Linked DNA regions of Homo sapiens: all the other regions are linked to region 2. The links are contacts of gene promoters, found by promoter capture Hi-C in blood cells and fetal thymus (Javierre and others, 2016). All regions are on one chromosome and are shown on one strand. Each heading gives the region's core, a stretch centred on a gene start or on the middle of the fragment in contact. The rest is flanking DNA. Distances are from core to core; before and after follow the strand shown.

Region 1 (2,830 bases), core at 139-2,638, 1.4 Mb after region 2:
GCACAGTGGCTCACACCTGTAATCCTAACACTTTGGGAGTCAGAGATGGGAGAATCACTTGAGCCCAGGAGTTCAAAACCAGCCTGTGCAACATAGTGAGAGACCTTGTCTCTAAGAAAATAAAAAAACAATAACAGTTAATAAAGTTTCCAGGAGTACCTTAGATAATCCCAGAATTGTATTTGTAATATTAGGAGAAGGGCTATTTTTAATATTCTAAAATTTATCATTGGAATGCCCATAAAAATTGCCTATGAGTAGAGTCATCATTACATCAGAATAATTTATGATAATTATTTAGGACTCTGCTTTTGATAAATATGTGCTCTGTAACTACTTAATAAAGTCATGAAAAATAATTTTTAAAATATAAACGTTACTTACATATCCCAGTTTGGAGCTATCCGCAAATGCTGGATTAGCAATTGGAACTAGAATAAGAAATTTAAGTGTAAAGAAAAGAAAAAATTAAAATGTTTAAGTCACAAAACACAGAAAATGACAGCAAAGTTAACAGCTCAGGACTTTATACAAAGGAAATTTACACTGTACACCAAAAATGGTATTTACTAAATTACAAAGGCACTAGTATACGAATAAGATTAAAATAAAAACTAAGAACAGTATTTTTAGTTTCTCCTACCACTTTATATTCGCTAAATGACTGCCCTTACCTGATAGACACACACCAACTATCAAAAAAAGTAACCTTAATACTATCCTGGAAGCAAATGAACTTAAATTTTTTCAAGCCAATTCCCAAATGAGGGACCACTATAGAAAACACCTCCGAACCACTGTAATTCCTCTCTGAGGATGACTTCAAAAACTCTGCCAATCGATGCTTAAACATGAGCCAAAAGAAACAAAAACCAAAAAAACTCTGACAAATTCCCTTGAGCTTACCAACAGACCAAGACAGTCCAAAAAGTAATATTCCCAGGGGAAGAGGAAAAAAATGTCTTAGAGGATTGATGTCTTCCTTCAATGTCACATCAGAAACCCTGCAGTTTACCAGATGACCCAGTAAAGGAACCGACACCCCCGACCCATTCCACATGGGGAGTTCATTCCAGTCACTAATGAGAAGGTAAAAGGTCTGTCTTATGATATCACTTTTTTTTTATTTTTATTTTTTGAGATGGAGTTTCACTTTTTTTGCCCAGGCTGGAGTGCTGTGGTGCGATCTCAGCTCACTGCAACCTCTGCCTCCCGGGTTCAAGTGATTCTCCTGCCTCAGCCTCCCAAGTAGCTGGGATTACAGGAGTGCACTGCCACACCCAGCTAATTTTGTACTTTTAGTAGAGACAGGGTTTCACCATGTTGGCCAGGCTGGTTTCGAACTCCTGACCTCAGGTGATCCACCCACCTTGGCCTCCCAAAGTGCTGGGATTACAGGCATGAGCCACTACGCCCAGCCTGATTTCAGATTTTTTTTTAAATCTTACAAGTTAACATAAAATGGAAACCTGAGTATTACAAACAAACAAACAAAATAAGTTCAAAATCACCATCTACTGTCATCTACTTTAGGACCTAAGGATTAAGCAGAGGATAATTTTCATAAACCTAAAATCGTGATAAATCAGTTTTTTTGTGGTAGTTAAATCAAATTGTTATTTTAGCACTTGTTTGAGCCTCTATAAAAACACAAATTAAAATGCATAAGGCATGTCACACAGGCTTACCAGGGGGGAATGGAGGAGCCTGGTGGCCACCTCCTGGTGACCAGCCACCACGCACAAATAGCAAAGGAGATTCAGCTTGGCTCGGGAGGCCCCCATGCTCTTCTCAGTGGAGTCGATCTGCGAGCACACTTGTTGCAAAAAGTCATTCCAATCTTGATCTTTCAGAAATAATAACTTATCCACTGCGATGGAAAGAAAATAATAAAAGTACATATGATGAGAAAAAGAACTGCTGGAAACATTACATAAGAAATAAACACAGAATTACGACAGCTAAGATGAGGACAAACATTACACTGTCAAAACCAAAAATACTCCAAAGATGACACTATTTTTATTCGTCCTTCTATATTCCTAATCTCTTTATCTATCCACGGAAACTTTTTAACCACTTCAATGGAAAACTATACTTTCAAATAAAGCAGATGTCTAAAGCAGAACTGTCCCACAACCTACACTATAACAAAATGCAAAGTTCAATACAACTGGAGTAAAAGACAAAAGAGCCTTTGTATAAATAAATCAACTCTCAAATATTGAGAAAAGCACAAATCCTACAGTTCTTAAAAAGTTCCAATAAAATTATTGTAAAAAAAATAACGAGAATAACATGATAGCTAAAAATCACCTGAAATTCCTACCTCCAAATCCCTATACAAAAAAAAGGCAAAATCTAGGAAATGTGATACCCCCTAAAATTAACATATTTTTGGCTGATCTCTATCTTTAGACAAAATAAATTGTAAATATAATCTCCTAAATAACTCAAAGAAGAAAAGGGAAATAGTATTTCCAGGTGATAATTCTCTAGGTTTGCGTAAATAGTCCTACTTGGCACTGAAAGCACTATTAATAATACTTTGCTTCACTTGGCCTTTCAAAAACGTCCTTCTACACAGTTTCTTTTTTGTTTTTATCAGTAATTAAGTTGACCAATATAAACCCTTAGCTGGTTTATTTAAACCTAAATATATTTTAAATTTACTTCAAATCATAGATTCTACTCTAGCCACGATGAATAATTTTCCCCAAATCGAGTTTAACAGCTTAAAATATAATTTGTTAAACGAAAAAACCAATTTAAGGTATGTAAAAATTTCTGATGGTCACCCTAAATAAGACTTTCATTAGCTCAACAGAAA
Region 2 (2,979 bases), core at 1-2,500:
ACCTAAGTCACTTTAACACAGAGATACAGCTTCAATTTACAAGCAGCCAGTTGCAAAGCTTCAGAAAAGGTTTTCAAAAAAACAGGACAATGGGTCCACTCTGCAGTCTAGGCCTGATGTTGACCCTTTTTCACAGTCCTGCTTTGTTTTGAGGCTATTAAAACCCTGCTTCATTTAAGTTCCATCTAAACTTTACACTTCCTCAAAATCCTGTAACTTTATATTTTCCTTCCCCTGGTAAAATGTCCCATGGTGTCTCTGGTGTGCAATCTCCCTCATTAAAAAAGATCGATAGACCTGGTTTTGCTGACTACAGGTTTGTCCCTGGTGGTCTTAGGCTGACTGGGCTTGAACAGTCTTGCTCAGCTTCAGGGTTCCTAAGATTGCAAATTTCAAAAACTGATACAACAAACATTTTTTCACTCCTAAATACAAATGCACCTGTCCACGTTGCCAGGTAGTTATGCACATGGCTACCATGTCAATTTGGTCATAACTAGGGTTAGGTCACTTCTCTGGAAGGTTAGTTATTAAGAACAAGAAAGAAAGTCAGGGTTCTGCACAGCTTTTGGTTTGATTCTTGTACTGACTTATGTTTCTTTTTCTTTGGGGCTACAGGTAAATATTTTGTCTGCTAAACTGACGCCCCCATCGCCAGTGTCTGAACAAACAAAACTGAGACATATCTAGTCAGCTGAAGCTGACAAATACAGGGGCCAATCTGGTTACAGGCAGGCAGTCCTGGCCTCGTGACACCGCAGAGACTGTGGGACAAGTGGACGTGCTCCTACTGTCCCTCGCATCCCCCATCTGGGCCGCGGGACTAGTGCCCTCAGGTCTATGACCCACTGCAAGAACCCAAAGCTCGACGCCCGCCCAGCCCTTCACATCCGTCCCTTGCAACAAGCAAGAGAAGAGGGGCGCGGCTTCAGGGGACGGGCGACGGTTTACAGGACAGCTCGTACACAGTACCAGCTGACATCCCCTAAGCCTGAGTGTCTAGGCCCCTGCCTCCACATTTAAGAGCCGACTGCGCCCCTTGGTGATTGGACGTCCGGACGCACCTTGAGTAGAGGCCAAGCAAACTATCGAGCCCGTCCAAAACGCCATATTTGTAACTGACGTCATCCTCATGTTGCCTTTCCTCTCTGTGATTGAGGAACCAATCAGTTGGGTGTAGCAGACGGGGCGTGGCTCTTCAGGTAGAGGCCGAAGGGGCTGAGAGCGGTCCCAGGCGGCCATCTTGATTCCTGGCATCACTCTCAACGTGCCCTCCCTCTCCGTGATTGGACGAGCAGGGCGGGCCTTCCGGAGGCACACAGCCGACCAACCAGAGATCTGCGCGTGCTCGATCTGGTCATCTGTTTTCTGACATCTGGAGCCACTAGCAGTTATCCTGTTCATTCCTGGGCGCCTGCGACCTTCCGAAGGAAACAAGACTTGCTTGGGGAAAGTTGCCTTGCCAGTATAGTGGAGCTTGGTAGAAACTTAAAAACTGCCTGGGGCTGCCTGGGATGGGGATCTCGAGATGCTTGTGGGGAGCACATTTTAGGAAACAGGGGGCTCAAGCTGCATGAAATGCTGCGGGAAATAGGAATGAGAGACGCAGAATGGTCGGAGAAAAAAGCTAGGAAGGTGTTTGGGAGTAAGATTTTGGAGTGCCTTGAATGCCAGACTAGGGAGTTTGGACTATATCCTGTAAGATAGGGGATAAAAATCAACTTTAAACAGGAGTGATATAACAAGATAATGTACTTTAGAAAATAATTCTGTAACTGTAGGGGGAGTCCCAAAGTGTTTCTCAAATTGTGTTCGGGGAAGTTCAAAGTGTGTTTGAGAGCTTGTTTTTATATGCAGATTCTTGCCCCTCACCAGACCTGCAAATAAAGTTCTCTGGTTGTACAGCCAGGAAACTGCATTAAAAAAAAACTTTTTAGGTTAACATACATTTGGTGAGAAAACGCATAAACCATATGGATAGGGCTCTGAATTTTCACAAGCAAACACTTCAGCCAGGCGGGGTGGCCCGTGCCCCTAATCCCAGCTACTCGGGAGGCTTAGGCAGGAGAATGGCTTGAGGCCAGGAGTACCAGATCAGCCTGGGCAACATAGCAAGACCCGTCTCTAAAAAAATTTAAAACAAAAATAATAACACACTCCCGTAGTTAACACCAGATGAAGAAACAACATGGCCAGCAGCTCAGAAGCTCCCCTTTTCCCCTTTAGCCACTGCTGCCTGCACCAAAGGTAAATATGATCATTACTTATAAGAACTGTAGATTAGTTTTGCCTGTTTTGAATTTGATATAAATAAAAGCATACAGGATATATTGTGTCAGCTTATTTGTTAGTGTTATTTATGAAATTCATCCGCATTGTTCCATGTAGTTGCTGTAGACTCCGTTGCTATAGATTGTTATCACAATTTATCCAGTCTCTTGTTTATGGGCCTTTGGGTAATTTCCAGTTTGGAGATAGTAGCAAAAAAAATGCTAAAATGAACATTCTTCTTCATTCATATCTTTTGCTTTGTAAATTATAAAGCAAGACAACAAGACCTAAAGACTGATTCATTCACTACCTATTTATTGAGCCCCTTACCAGACTAAGGTGAGAAAATAAAACAGAAAAGACAGCAAAGGTCCTGCCCTCATGGAACTTATTCTAACTGGAACGAAACAACACCTACGTGGGCAGCAAAACAAGTCAAACAATTGCAATTGTGATAACTCTGAGGGAAACAAGGTGAGCTAGAAAAAGAAGGGTGGGGACTTAACCTTTTTTTATGTGGTAGCCTGGTTAACTCTCAGAAAAATATCTAGGAAAAAATACAAGAGATAAGTTGGCACTGCTACACGATGAGTATTAACAATGGGTAGACCATTCCTGGCAAGAGAGACACCATGTATAAAGGTCATGGAGGAGGAGAGAGCTTGGCCCATTCAAGACCAGTGTGGCTTCAACACAATGAAGGAGGGA
Region 3 (3,114 bases), core at 15-2,514, 1.4 Mb after region 2:
AGTATCACCTATGATATGTTCTTACCAAAAAAAAAAAAAAAAGGTTCAACCTAAATCTAATGAAGCGTCCAGACCTAACCTACAGTTTATAGGAAATGTGTGGACTAGAGGAATAAGTTAGCAATACCAAAAAAAGCAAGCAGACAAATCTGGAATGTGGAATATTCAACAGGACAAACAGCCTGGACTCTCCAAGAATCAATGTAATGTGGCAAGAAAAAATAGAGGAACAATTCTAGAAAAAAACATGAGGAAAGAGACTCCAACAGTGAATTATAGAGAGCACCAAGTTGTTTCTTATAATGATGCAAAGGTGATTTATTTTTAGGAATTCCATTAATATAATCCACCTATTAATAGAGATAGGAAGAAAAATTAAATACTCCTATCTTCTGATGCCATACCAAACTCAATAACCATTAATGTTAAAAACAAAGAGGAAACTGGTAAATACTTATTTAACATGATTTTATGCCAACACCAAGTATTCATGAGAATACAGAGCACTGAACATTCTTTCATTAGTCAAAGCATTTTAACTTATACAACCTTACTGGAAAACAGTTTAGATTACCCCCTAAAGTTGAACACACACATATCCTGTAACCTACCAATTCCATTCCTACACATATCCAACAGAGAGCTTGCGCAAGTGCATCAAAATGTGTGTGCAAGGCTTTTAATAGCCAAATACAGAAAACAATCCAAATGCCCATCACCAGTGATGTAGTATACTCATGTAATAAAAATGAACTACAGGTACAGGCAACAAGGATGAATTCCATAAACATAATATGAAATAAAAGAAGCCAGATACCAAAGTATACATATCATATGACTCAATTTAAACAAAATTCAAAAGCCGGCAAAATCATGACAGAATTGGAAGTTACGGTAACTTCCTTTGGCACAAAGGGAGAGAACAGTGATCAGGAGAGAGCACAAGAGGATCCCCGGGTATGCTGGCAATGTTCTACTTAATGTTCTGTTTCTTGACCCAGTGACAGTTTATTGGGTTTTCACACTTGGCAATAATTCATTAAGCAATACATTTATGTTTTGTATGTATTTCCAACACTTCAATAAAAAAGAATTATAATTTTCAAACCAGAAAGAAAGTACAAAGTAATCTCTAAATATCTAAAAAAAATTGAAAACATATGTAACTATATATCATATTGGTGACAAAAGTACAAAGTGAAGAATTATATAAATTGCTTTTAAAACTCAGCGTTTTGACTGTACATATCATCCAGTGGGTTATATCCCAAGGGAAAAAAAGTACTTAAAATGCACTTTGTAGTTTTGTTGTTAGTAACAATACGTGTACTATTTTTAAACTATTCTAAACTCTAAGCTAAAAAAAAAGATAATTATGTTAATGTTATTAATGGCCAAGAGTGTTTTTTTTTGAGACAGAGTCTTGCTCTGTTGCCTAGGCTGGAGCGCAGTGGTCCGATCCCAGCAGCCTCCGCCTCCTGGGTTCAAGCAATTCTCATGCCCCAGCCTCCCAAGGAGCCAGGATTACAGGCGTGCATCACTATGCTCGGCTAATTTTTGTATTTTTAGTAGAGATGGGGTTTTGCCATGTTGGCCAAGCTGGTCTCGAACGCCTGAACTCAAGTGATCCACCCACCTCAGCTCCCAAAGTGCTGGTATTACAGGCATGAGCCACCGCCCCAGCCAGGAATTTTAGCTTATGAGAAGAAAAATAAAAATTGTAAATCAAAAGGTAAAAACGAATTTTAAATCTGAATTGGAGCCAGGCGTGGTGGCTCACCGCTATAATCCCAGAACTTTGGGAGGCCAAGGTGGGTGGATCACCTGAGGTCAGGAGTTTGAGACCAGCCTGGCCAACATGGTGAAACCCCATCTCTACTAAAAATACAAAATTAGTCGGGCATGATGGTGCATGCCTGTAATCTCAGCTACTCAAGAGGCTAAGGCAGGAGAATCGCTTGAACCCGGGAGGCAGAGGTTGCGGTGAGCCGAGATCGCGCCGTCGCACTCCAGCCTGGGCAACAAGAGCAAAACTCTGTCTCAATAAAAAAATCTGAATTGGAAAAGCAGAATAAACTGTGAATTTTTCTCTTTTTAAGAAACAATAGTACCTAGATCTAACCTCTGAAAAGCTCTACCAGGAAAAAAAAAAAAAAAAAAAAACCTAGAGAACCCAGATTGAGTTCTCTAACTACATCTTCTAACAAAGTAAACAAGATTCCTTATAGAAGTGGTTTCAAAACTAGGGGTTGACTATTCCCGAAACAAGCCTATGAAAGCTCACTGCCGAGAAGCCAGCAAGCTGTCAGAGACAGGAGTAGGCTCATGTCAAAGGGAGAAAGGAGCAAACTTGAAAGAGCTCCCACTGGATGGAGATGAAACAATGTAAGCATCAAAAAGACTAATGACTGCAAAGGACTAGACGATATACATATACATATATACACCTGTAAGTTCTTAACAATATAAAATCAATCTCACTAGACACGGAGATTTCTCAGGTACCAACTCTTTATTCTGAAAACTGACCTATGAAGAGGAACAATCAAGCATTTATCCTGCCTTGCAAAACAAACTCTATTTTAAGGATAACCAAATAGTTGATCAGGGAAAGATCTTCTGTAAGAAAACTTCCAACTACAAATAGAAAGGAAATTACAGAATAAGAAAATTATCATTTTGCAACTCTAAAGGATTACTACATGTAGACAATAATCGATTGATGTTAAAACTGTTAAAAAAAAAAAAAAAAAAAAAGAGTGAGGAGTTCCTGACTCACAGATAAGGGTATGAAGAAAAAAAAAGAGTGATGGGAATATTTATAATAAGGCTGACAACATCTGAGTCTAGTGATCAACTTTAACCCCTCTAATAGAGGCATATAATGTTTAATTGTCTCACTTCCTATGAAGCAGTAGGAGAAATACAGCACCAACTGTGACAAATTCCTATTTCCCCAAGCCATCCCCCCAAAAAAAAGTACTGAATCAAGGGTCCACATCTAAGCAGCCATGCGCAAGAAAGGAAAGGCAGGTGATAAAGGACTATATTAAATAACACCAAAAGGGTGCAGTAAAGCTTCTGGTATTCCAATTTGGGCCAAGACAAGGGACA

Evidence for each region. Contacts are between HindIII fragments. The CHiCAGO score rates a contact against its expected background, and 5 or more counts as called.
Region 1: a contact is called between a fragment that was not itself captured here and the fragment with the promoter of ENTPD3-AS1 in region 2, in 3 of 17 cell types (total CD4 T cells, M2 macrophages and M1 macrophages). The highest score is 6.8, in total CD4 T cells.
Region 3: a contact is called between a fragment that was not itself captured here and the fragment with the promoter of ENTPD3-AS1 in region 2, in 13 of 17 cell types (M1 macrophages, fetal thymus, total CD4 T cells and 10 more). The highest score is 9.8, in M1 macrophages.

Annotation. Positions count from the first base shown.
Region 1 is chr3:41,895,134-41,897,963 of GRCh38, forward strand. It overlaps ULK4 (unc-51 like kinase 4), which reads right to left. Exons shown (of 37, transcript NM_017886.4): 15 at 1,689-1,870; 16 at 385-431. Among named protein-coding and RNA genes, the nearest start is that of ULK4, 66 kb to the right of the region's middle. The HindIII fragment of the contact is 3,983 bases long and covers 1-2,830 here.
Region 2 is chr3:40,452,058-40,455,036 of GRCh38, forward strand. ENTPD3-AS1 (ENTPD3, EIF1B and MYRIP antisense RNA 1) reads right to left here and starts at 1,251. Exons shown (of 4, transcript NR_040100.1): 1 at 1,065-1,251. RefSeq lists enhancers at 985-1,054, 1,075-1,144. The HindIII fragment of the contact is 7,917 bases long and covers 57-2,979 here.
Region 3 is chr3:41,875,940-41,879,053 of GRCh38, forward strand. All of the region lies in intron 17 of ULK4 (unc-51 like kinase 4), which reads right to left. Among named protein-coding and RNA genes, the nearest start is that of ULK4, 85 kb to the right of the region's middle. The HindIII fragment of the contact is 3,624 bases long and covers 1-3,076 here.